Linked DNA regions of Homo sapiens: region 1 is linked to region 2. The links are contacts of gene promoters, found by promoter capture Hi-C in blood cells and fetal thymus (Javierre and others, 2016). All regions are on one chromosome and are shown on one strand. Each heading gives the region's core, a stretch centred on a gene start or on the middle of the fragment in contact. The rest is flanking DNA. Distances are from core to core; before and after follow the strand shown. Region 1 overlaps UIMC1 (ubiquitin interaction motif containing 1). Region 2 holds the start of LMAN2 (lectin, mannose binding 2).

Region 1 (5,193 bases), core at 1,956-4,455, 450 kb after region 2:
TTAGTAATGCCAAACCTCATAGATTGCAAGAATTGTATCTGGTAAAGCTCCAAACATATTCCCTGGCATAAGTAGGCTCTTGATAAATGTTAGCTGCTATTATTACTGTTGTTATTAGTCGCTATTGTTAAAATTCACCAGATGTGGATGGAAGAGGAGCTTTTGCTTAAGCCTGGTGAGATGTGCTTACCATCTAGTTCTAATAGTTCATTCCCACCAAGCAAATCTGTTGTGCCTTCTGATGACTATAAAAAGGCAGCCTCTCCCAGCCTCATATCCTGCTGTCTCTAGATCACCAGTTTGTGAATCTCTGCAGGTGGCAGATTTCCCTTGGCAACTTCCTTGTTCCTCAAGTCCAGAATTGAAGTAGATTTATTCAGAGGTTGTTCATTCAAAAGTGTTCATCTGAGTGCCCCTGCAGCTGAGTCTGTTGGACACTAATGCTCACCGTCTGTGGGTTTAGGGGATTGGGGATCTGTGCTACCTGGATAGGCCTGATGAGAAGCAGTGCCTAGAGCACGGAAGCAAAAGATCAGTGAGAAGTGCTATGATTACCAACACTACTACCAACATTATTATTTTTTCTTTTATATCACAGATGCAGACATCAAGTCTTCAGAAACAGGAGCCTTCAGGTGAATTGGATTGTGCACTGAATTGTGGCTGTCAGCATTTCTGAAAAGTGCAGGCCTTGTCCTGTGTTCTGTGTGTAGTGTGATACTCAGACTGTTGCAGTAGAAATCACTGTGGAACTATTATGACCTCTCTCTCAGTATGACTCTGTGCTCCCCATTTAGCTAAAGATTGGATAACTCAATTCATTCATTGTGTTAAAACAAACAGAGTGAAAGTTATGTCTTATTCTTCTGTACCTCTCTATCCCCATCCAACCCTGGTTTTCTGACCTGGATTCTCAAGCAGCTTGGGAATTTGGATCTCAGTTCTCATTCTCTCAATGGCCAGCTTTAAGTAGTATATGATTTACCCAGTGACCTCATCTGTGAAAACAGAGTGATGATATGTGGTGGGATTATTACAAAGATTATTTGTACTAATAATCCCCTGATATGTAAAATCCCCTGATACAGTGCATAGCATGTCCTTGATGCTTAGTAGGTGTATATTGAATCTGAATTTTTTTCCTTCTCTCTAGGGTGCCTTCACCAGGGATGGAAGAGGCAGGCTGCAGCAGAGAGATGCAGAGTTCTTTCACACGTCGTGACTTAAATGAATCTCCCGTCAAGTCTTTTGTTTCCATTTCAGAAGCCACAGATTGCTTAGTGGACTTTAAAAAGCAAGTTACTGTCCAGCCAGGTAGTCGGACACGGACCAAAGCTGGCAGAGGAAGAAGGAGAAAATTCTGAATTTCTAGGGTCCAAAAGTTGACAAAACCATTAGTAGGAGGGGTGGGCCATGTTCATTAAGCCATAGTGGTCCCTAGTTCATTGTTGAGCAAGTTTTAGCCCTGCAGTTTTCACCACCAGCACCTACCCAGCATTCTGGTTTTTATGTTTTTTATGATCTATGCAGACAACTGTGTATTCTGTTTTATAACAGTTTGTTTGAATTTACTTACAGTTAAAAAATTTAAATATATTTATGTTTGTACGAAATCTTATTTCAATAGATGGAAATTTTAATTTTTTTTTCCTTCATGTTGCAGGGTTTGGGGTGGGGATACTTTCATTGTAGAGGTAGTTTATTAGACTCATAAATCACATGCTGAATGAATGCCATTACTGATCCTTGACATACCATGTATATATTCACTTAATGTGTACTGCACAATTCCGAACATTGGTTACTCCCTTGACTGTTTCTGACATAATTCTGGGAGGTGCCAGGGGCATTGACTCCCACTACCTATTCTGCTATCCCTACCATTCAGTGACCTGTCCCTTCATCTTGTACTCACACAGTGGAATTCTCAGCCTGAGCATAGAACATTTGAAGGATGTGTCCTGCCATTCTTCCCAGGAATGTGCAAGTGAACACTCTGTTATTAGATGCCTATGCAATTATTTTTTCTAAATAGATTAACCAGTGGGGATGCCAGGCATATTCATCTGTTCAAATCAAGATTGGGTCTCTTGATGCCAAAGGTTAGCAGCAACAGGACATGGCTTCTGTTTTGGTAACATTACTAACATAGCGCACATTCCTCACCGTGTTGCCTAGGAGCTTCCAGTGCAGAACAGAGATGTGGTCTGTTCTCGGTGCATGCCATGTGCAGACTCTGAAGATGAGAGGATGTCAATTGGCAGAAGGAGCTACCTGAAGGAGATGACCAAACAAGGATGTGAAGAATGCTAGTTTTGGCCAAAACTGATTTGAAGTTGTAATGAAAAACTGGGGGAGGTGGCTGTTGACCAGGAAAGGATCTTGGGACAGGATAAACAGGCACACTCAAGACTCTCCTAACTTCTGATTTTGTCCAAAGTTATCTTTTCTTTTAACATGAAAACGAGGTATGTGTTAGACTGGGGAGTTAGCAGATAGCTGGGATGGAAGACAGCACAAACATTAAGGCCTTGTTCCTGCCTAGGTCCCTTTGCACACAACCTTTTGAGTTAGAAGAAGGCAAGATGGCAGTCTCACTGTCTTTTCCTTCCATAGATAATGTCTTGCTGTTGGATGGCACTGACCTAGTGGCTAGCAGCACATAAGAAATAGCTGTTATTTTTTGAGCAACTACTACGGTCCAGGCAATGTATGTGGCCTTCATTTAATCCTCATAGCAACCCTATGGGGTATAGGTATTATCATCTCAATTTCCAGATGAGGAAGCAAAGGCTTAGAGTAACAAATAAGCCACTTTTTGTCCATGGCAGTGGAACCACAGTGCCCCTACTCTTCATTCCTGAAGAAAATGCTATATTTTGACTCCAGTATTGATTATTTTCCTGTTTTTCTTCTAGTGAAAAGTAGTTTATCAGTTATGTCCCATAAGCTTAACTCTCGCTTGTTTTCTCTTTCATTAAATGGCAATTTATTGGAGGTAGCGCTGTATAAACAGGGGACAGTGTGTGTATCTGTTTGCCTGAAGATAAGAAAAGGGAAAGGGTACTTCTGGAAAGTGAATTATTTAGCTTAAAATTGAGCAGTTTCCCTAAAACATGAGTCAGCAGCAGGAGGGTATGGATCAGCCAGACCAGGAACCACAGGCTTAATTATTAGCTAATGGGGAGTCAAGGGAAGAACAGCTACCCACTTCCCCCATCGCCTCCTCACAACCGTCTTGTTTGCCCACAGTCTTATTCTCCCCATGCTGTGATCCTGTGAGAGGAGCATTAGTGAAAGAGTGAAGAGACAAAGTATAAAATGTGTGAGATCAGCCTACATCTGCACCCTGCTTCTGATAAAAGTTAACCTCTCTGAGACCTGGCTTTCTTGTCCATAAAATGGGAAAAGATCATACTAACAGGGTTCTAAGGATTACCATAATGTGGATAAAGCTTTGATCCAGCACAATGTCATCACATAGAAGAATGAGTTAGTGGCAGCAGTTATTAATGTGATGCTAGTCTATGTGTCACAAATGATGTTGCACTGAGGGGTGGAGGGATGGGGGACGGGTGCAGATGCAAGAGGAGATAGTTTTCAGAGGAATGTGTACTCAGGAGGGACTACTCGGGCTCCATCAACCATCAGGCTTCCACAGGAAACTTGGGTCCCAGGCATCTAGAGTTCTCCTAGGGCCCCTGGATTTCTTTTACTTCTGAAAGATGAGAAATAGCTGTTCTGCTGATGCTGCCAACTCACGGAGAGCTGGGAAGCTCCATAAACTTCACAAGCTATTGCCGTAAATTGGAAGAGATAGAGGGGGACTTCTCTTTGTTAGGCGCTGTAGTTGTGCTTTTTCATTTAGTCCTTACAGCAGCCCCAGCAGAGGTTGTGCCTCGCCCATTTCCCCCAGGCATTCGCCATTCTGCTGTATACCCACAGAGTCCTGTTGCAAGTACCTGAGACTCTGCCTGAGGACTTCTCTTGGTTTGTGTTGGCACAAGCTGAGAGTACCAGGGAGTTAGTGCCCCTGGGACAGCTCTCAGCCAGTGGAAGTGGGAGGATAGATACCCCAGCTTCCTCACTCAGTGAGGGACAACTCTAAGGCACATTCTACCTATTTCTCAGGGTTCCCTGTGGGAGTGAACCTCTCTAAGCTCCCAGTAACAATTAACGTACACTTCCTTGGCTTCTTTCTCTTCCTACCTGGCTTCCAGCTCCTCTTCTGTATTTTCCTGATCAGGACTGGGACTAGGGTGATGAGCCTTTATTCTTGGGTTCATCTAAGTGCAAGGTTGGCACCCGTATGAACCTGAGAGGGTCTCTTTACATTCTGTACCCTAGGCATATCATTTGCATTGCCCTGATTCTGGCCCTGTCCTGGATCACTTCCCAAATAAAGTTATTTGCATTCAAATTAGGTCTGCCTCTGGGTTTACCTAACCTAAAGCAAATCCTATGAAGACATCAGTCTCCAAGTTTTATACAAGGAAAACCGAGGCTCAGAGGAATAAGAAATTTGTCTAAGGTCTTTCAGTTGGTAATGAGATGGGATTTTGAAACCAGGTCTGCCTGACCCCAGAGCTGAAGCTTTCTGTACTATAGCACACTACTTCCTACTTCTCATTTCAGTCACAAAACTAATGACTCAAGGGAAATTTCAGGTTTGGATGAGCTCATTTTTGCCTGTGAATCAGGGTAGCTTTGGCCTTAGGTTGTTAGCAGATGGGAATTTGGGGAGGGGAAGGCAGGTAGTAAGTGGATGAGAGGGTTGTAGTTGTCAGTGGAAAGATGGACTAGTGGAAAGACTGCTGAAACCATATGCACCAGGAAGACAGTAAGAGCTTGCTTGCTTCCTCTCAGTTTCAAAAGCCCTGGACTTTTTTTTTTTTTTTTTTTTTTTTTGAGACAGTCTTGCTCTGTCACCCAGGCTGGAGTACAGTGGCGTGATCTCGGCTCACTGCAACTTACCCTGCCTCCCAGGTTCGAGCAATTCTCTTGCCTCAGCCTCCCGAGTAGCTGGGATTACAGGTGCACACCACCACGCCCGGCTAATTTTTTTAATTTTTAGTAGAGACGGGGTTTCACTGTATTGGCCAGGCTGATCATGAATTCCTGACCTCAAGTGATCCGTCCACCTCGGCTTCCCAAAGTGTTGGGATTACAGGCGTGAGCCATCATGCTTGGCCA
Region 2 (5,304 bases), core at 1,998-4,497:
CACCATCCTCGACTTCTCCCTTCCTGGCTGCCCACAGGGCATCAGTTCCTGATTTAGTCTCTGGCTGGGACTTCAGATCCTTCTTCTCTGTGAAGACCTCCTTGGCTTAGGCCTCACCCTCTCTCCCCCGATCATGATGAATCCAGTCTCCCTATTATCCCCGCTCCAATCTCTTCTCCTCACCATAGCTAGAGGAATCCACATTGGTCACTCCCATGCTTAGAAATATCCCATTGAGTTCTGGGAAAAGGCCATGTTCCTTACTTGGGAATTGAAGGCCCTTTGAGTTTTGGCTTCAGCTCCCCCGCAGCCCCCAACTCCAACTTCTCAGCCATTCCAAACTACTTGTATTTCATCTGCTCTCACACATCCCTCCCTAGATTGCAGCTCCTCTTCTCTCTGCTGAGAATGCCTTTACCTTTCCCGGAAAACTCCTACTCATTCTTCATGACCCAATTCCAGGTTCTAGAACAAATATTCATTCTTTCACCAGTTACTTATTAATCACCTCCTATGTGACAAGCACTATTCTAGATGCCAGGGATTCAGTAGTGACCATAGCTGACAAAAATCCCAGCCCCATGAAGGTCCCATGGAATGTGCATGTTTTTGTTTGTATGGGTGCAGATAAATCTCTGGAAGGGGACACTCCTTGCGAGGGGAGTGGCAGAAGACTTTTGTTGTGTCTTTTCTTTTCTTTTCTTTTCTTTTTTTGAGATGGAGTTTCACTCTTGTTGCCCAGGCTGGAGTGCAATGGCACAATTTTGGCTCACTGCAACCTCCGCTTCCTGGGTTCGAGTGATTCTCCTGCCTCAGCCTCCTGAGTAGCTGGGATTATAGGTACCCGCCACCATGGCCGGCTAATTTTTTGTATTTTTAGTAGAAACAGGGTTTCACAATGTTGGCCAGGGTAGTCTCGAACTCCTGACCTCAAGTGATCCACCTGCCTTGGCCTCCCAAAGTGCTGGGATTACAGGTGTGAGCCACCATGCCTGGCTTGTTGTGTCTTGTATGTCTGTTCTCTCTCTGTTTCCATACACACCACAAGAATGTGTGACTTTTTTGAGACAGAGTCTCACTCTGTCACTCAGGCTGGAGTGCAGTGGCAAGATCTTGGCTCACTGCAACCTCCACCTCCCAGGTGCAAGTGATGCTCGTGCCTCAGCCTCCTGAGTAGCTGGGATTACAAGTGTGCACCACCACACCCAGCTAATTTTTTGTAGAGACAGGGTTTCGCTATGTTGGCCAGGCTGGTCTCGAACTCCTAGCCTCAAGTGATCCACCCACCTCGGCCTCCCAAACTACTGGGATTACAGGTGTGAGCCACCGTGCCTGACCAGAATGTGTGACTTTAATAATAAAAAAGCGAACGAAAAATATATGACCAAGAAAAGATTCAGCACTCAATCCTGAATAAGTCCATTCATTCAAGAGGGCAGTTTCTAAAAGGAGCAAGCAACCAACATCCCTCCCTGTGATCTACAACAGGAGTCATTGATTCAAATGTCTGGAGGAGCCAGGCAAGTGCTGTAAACGAGTGACCAGGTGGGGACCAGCTTAGAAGAGGAAGGCATTGGTGGAGGGGCAGTCCCATTCAGCTCCAGCCTATTGTTCTGTTGTGGGAATGTGTGCCTAGATCTTTTGCTGCTGCTTCTTTTTTTTTTTTTTTGGGTAAAAAAACGGAAGTCTGGATTTCTTTTCTTCTTCTTCTTCTTCTTTTTTTTTTTTTTTGTAGAGACAGAGTCTTGCTCTGTCGCCCCGGCTGGAATGCAATGGCGTGATCTCTGCTCACTGCAACCTCTGCCTCCTGGGTTCAAGCAATTCTCCTGCCTCAGCCTCCCGAGTAGCTGGGACTACAGGTGTCCGCCACCACGCCGTTAATTTCTTTTGTATTTTAGTAGAGACGGGGTTTCACCGTGTTGCCCAGGCTGGTCTGAAACTCCTGAGCTCAGGTAATCTGCTCGCCTCTGCCTCCCAAAGTGCTAGGATTACAGGCCTCAGCCACTGAGCTCAGCCGGAAGTCTGGATTTCTGATGTGAATGTACATATTCCGACTTTGTGTGTGTGTGTGTGTGTGTGTGTGTGTGTGTGTGTGTGTGTGACAGAGTCTCGCTCTGTCGCCCAGGCTGGAGTGCAGTGACGCGATTTCGGCTCACTGCAAGCTCTGCCTCCTGGGTTCAAGCCATTCTCCTGGCTCAGCCTCCCGAGTAGCTGGGACTACAGACACCTGCCACCACGCCCGGCTAATTTTTTGTATTTTTTAGTAGAGACGGGGTTTCACCGTGCTAGCCAGGATGGTCTCGATCTCCCGATCTCGTGATCCGCCGGCCTCAGCCTCCCAAAGTGCTGGGATTACAGGCGTGAGCCACCACGCCCAGCCTCTATATTCTGACTTTAAAATACTGGTAGTTAAGCCATTTATTAGAATATTGGCAGGTAAAACAGAGCTCTATTCAGCTGCAGGCCACCAGTTTTCGACCTCTGATTCACAGCTTTCCTGGGCCTTCCATGGACGTTACTTGCTGTACCAGGCACTGCGCTCTTTTGCATAGGGATGAGTTCCAGTCATCACTGGGGTCCCAGGCCAGGATCTGTGTCTGTTCCTCTTGCTTCAACCCGACTAGGCCTGAGGAGTTGAGGGTAGTGGAGGCCCTCAAATAATTGGGAATTCTGAGTCTCCAAAGGCGCGAAGCTGGGGCGCCTGACGGCAGGCACGGCTTAAAGGCTTGCCCAGGGCCACCCGGGGAGGACAAGGGTTGGAATGCAGGACTCCGCCTTCAATTCAGAGCTCCTTTCTCCAGGACTAGAAAAGGTTATTCCAGAGACGGGACTTGCGGCCAGAAGCCCAAGACGTCCTAGTCTTCGCGAATCCGCCCCATTAGAGCGACCGACAAAAACTACAAATTCCAGCATGCCCCGAGTCGCGGACGGCCCTCGCGCTCCCGCCGGCTCCAACCATCCCTCTGCTCCTCATTGGCTCGCAAGCCTAACGTGCTGTTCCGTGACTGGTTACAGCTCTTGTCGCTCGAAAGAACCCATTGCTGGGGCTGGCCGGCGTGTGCCTTGGAGCCTCTAAGGAGATGAAACTGCACTCAACCAGGATGAGAGGCTGCCCGGCCAATGCAGCTGCCGCCCCGTCTGCTGCGGAGGCTTTGCTTTTTGACTCCCTGGCGACAGTAAAGTTGAAGAGCTTCCGGCCGGAGGCCAATAGATGGGACCCCCGGAAGGCGGAAGTTCTAGGGCGGAAGTGGCCGAGAGGAGAGGAGAATGGCGGCGGAAGGCTGGATTTGGCGTTGGGGCTGGGGCCGGCGGTGCCTGGGAAGGCCTGGGCTTCTCGGCCCCGGCCCTGGCCCCACTACACCTCTCTTTCTTCTTTTGTTGTTGGGGTCTGTGACTGCGGATATAACTGACGGCAACAGTGAACATCTCAAGCGGGAGCATTCGCTCATTAAGCCCTACCAAGGTGAAGCCCTTGGGGCGGGAATGAGTGAAGAGTGAGGGCGAGGCTGAACAGGGCTAGGGGAAGGCGTGCCCTTTCTCCTGAGCAGAGCATCTCTGTGGGTTTCCTGCCTCTGGTGAGGCCAGTCCTGGCGTGGCCTCTTAGCACCTGTCTCTTCCCACAGGGGTCGGTTCCAGCTCTATGCCCCTCTGGGACTTCCAGGGCAGCACTATGCTCACGAGCCAGTACGTACGTCTGACCCCTGACGAGCGCAGCAAAGAGGGCTCTATCTGGAACCACCAGGTGAGTGGTTCTCAAGAGGATAGGCGTACTGTGCGGTTGGCTGCTAGTCCCTGCCTCCCGAGCAGCTGAGACCCCAGCTTCGTTTATAGGTTTGCACCTCCGTCCCTGGCCTTTTCCTCATCTCGGTCACACCCACCAATAATAAGAGGCGATGGGTATTGGGTACTTACTATGTGTCAGGAGCTGCGCTTGACACTTTACATCCTCCTCACTTTAAAAGCCATGCGAGATGAGTAATGTTATCTCCATTTTACCCACTGAGAAGCTAAGACTCAGGTTTGAAAGGGCCTTACCCAAAGTTACATAGCCAGAAAGTAGTGGAACTGTCAGGCTGTCTGCCTTGAACCCCCTCAGTAATGGGAAGAACCGAGCGAACTGGATCTTTATTGGGTGTTTTGCTGTGTATTAGGCACTGACCTTGCCATGCCTTATTGCATTTAATTTTCAAACAAGCTGTTTGAAATAGATGGCTTTCATGACTATACAAAGATAACCCAGCTAGCAAATGTCATAAACAGTATTTAAACTCTGATTTGTCTGATCTCTAAGCCCAGCAGTTCACTCGATGTACTTGACTCTTTTCACCTGGACAGTGGAGGAACCCCTTAGAACCCTTTTTGCAATGCTTGGTTGAGGGTCTTGTCATCAGTAGTGTGGAGGGACTGGACCTGTGGGCAGTTCTAGTGTCTGTGACCTTTGCCTCAGAGTATGTAGTATGTAGTATGTGAGCAGTGGCCAATGACAGCTGCTACACAGAATCCACACTGAGGCAGTCAAGGTGAGGAAAAAGGGGAAAGAAGAATAATTTGGGGCTGGGTTACAGCTTGGAGCGGGACCTGCTCCTGCCCCAGCTTGCCTAATCTCAGCCCTTCCCATGGCTTAAGCTGTTGGCCAGTGTTCTAGTTTTCTCCATCACCCTGCTCTCTGATCCCTGCTGGTTGACTTTCTTGTTTAGTTCTGGGAACCCACACTGTCCTTGTGTTGCCTGGTCTGCCCGTCCCCTCTGCTCCTCCTCTCCTTCCTGCCCCGAGCCTCCACACTGCTGTTAGTGGCATCTGCGGATACTTTCTTCAGCTTTCAGTCTGATCCTCAGAGCGTGGAGTCCCCTGTGAAGGGGTAAGCATGCATTATGTCTGCACAATCTGGCCCCTTGTGCATCTCCAGTCATTCTCTGTGTTAATTTTGTTCCAGCCCCCCCTGGCTGCCTTCTTGCCTCAGGACCTTTGCACCTGTTGTTCCCTCTGTCTGGGACACTGCCTCCTGGCTCCTCATGCCTGCTTGGTTCCTTCTCATCTGTTAAGTCTCAATTCAAGTGCCACCCACGCAGACATTTCTTCATTAACCACCCTATCTCCCCCGAGTCACATTCTGTCACATTCTGTCTTAGGGCTTTCAGATATTTTAAAGAAATGATAATTCAGCCTTATATTTTTCATGGAAATGAGTTCAGTATAGCATTATTATTATTTTTTGAAAGCAAGGTGCAAACAGTGCTGGAACTGTAGAAATCAGGAGTAGCCACAAGTAATAGACGCATCTAAGACAGTGGCTTACATTTTGGT

The links. Contacts are between HindIII fragments. The CHiCAGO score rates a contact against its expected background, and 5 or more counts as called.
Region 1: a fragment that was not itself captured here is called in contact with the fragment with the promoter of LMAN2 in region 2 in 1 of 17 cell types (monocytes); the score reaches 5.3 in monocytes.

Annotation. Positions count from the first base shown.
Region 1 is chr5:176,901,453-176,906,645 of GRCh38, reverse strand. UIMC1 (ubiquitin interaction motif containing 1) reads left to right here. Exons shown (of 15, transcript NM_001199298.2): 14 at 599-635; 15 at 1,154-1,640. The coding sequence ends at 1,364. Among named protein-coding and RNA genes, the nearest start is that of HK3, 4.7 kb to the right of the region's middle. The HindIII fragment of the contact is 505 bases long and covers 2,953-3,457 here.
Region 2 is chr5:177,349,611-177,354,914 of GRCh38, reverse strand. LMAN2 (lectin, mannose binding 2) reads left to right here and starts at 3,247. Exons shown (of 8, transcript NM_006816.3): 1 at 3,247-3,463; 2 at 3,624-3,742. The coding sequence starts at 3,268. RefSeq lists enhancers at 3,057-3,106, 3,117-3,306 and a silencer at 2,948-3,162. The HindIII fragment of the contact is 10,936 bases long and covers 1-5,304 here.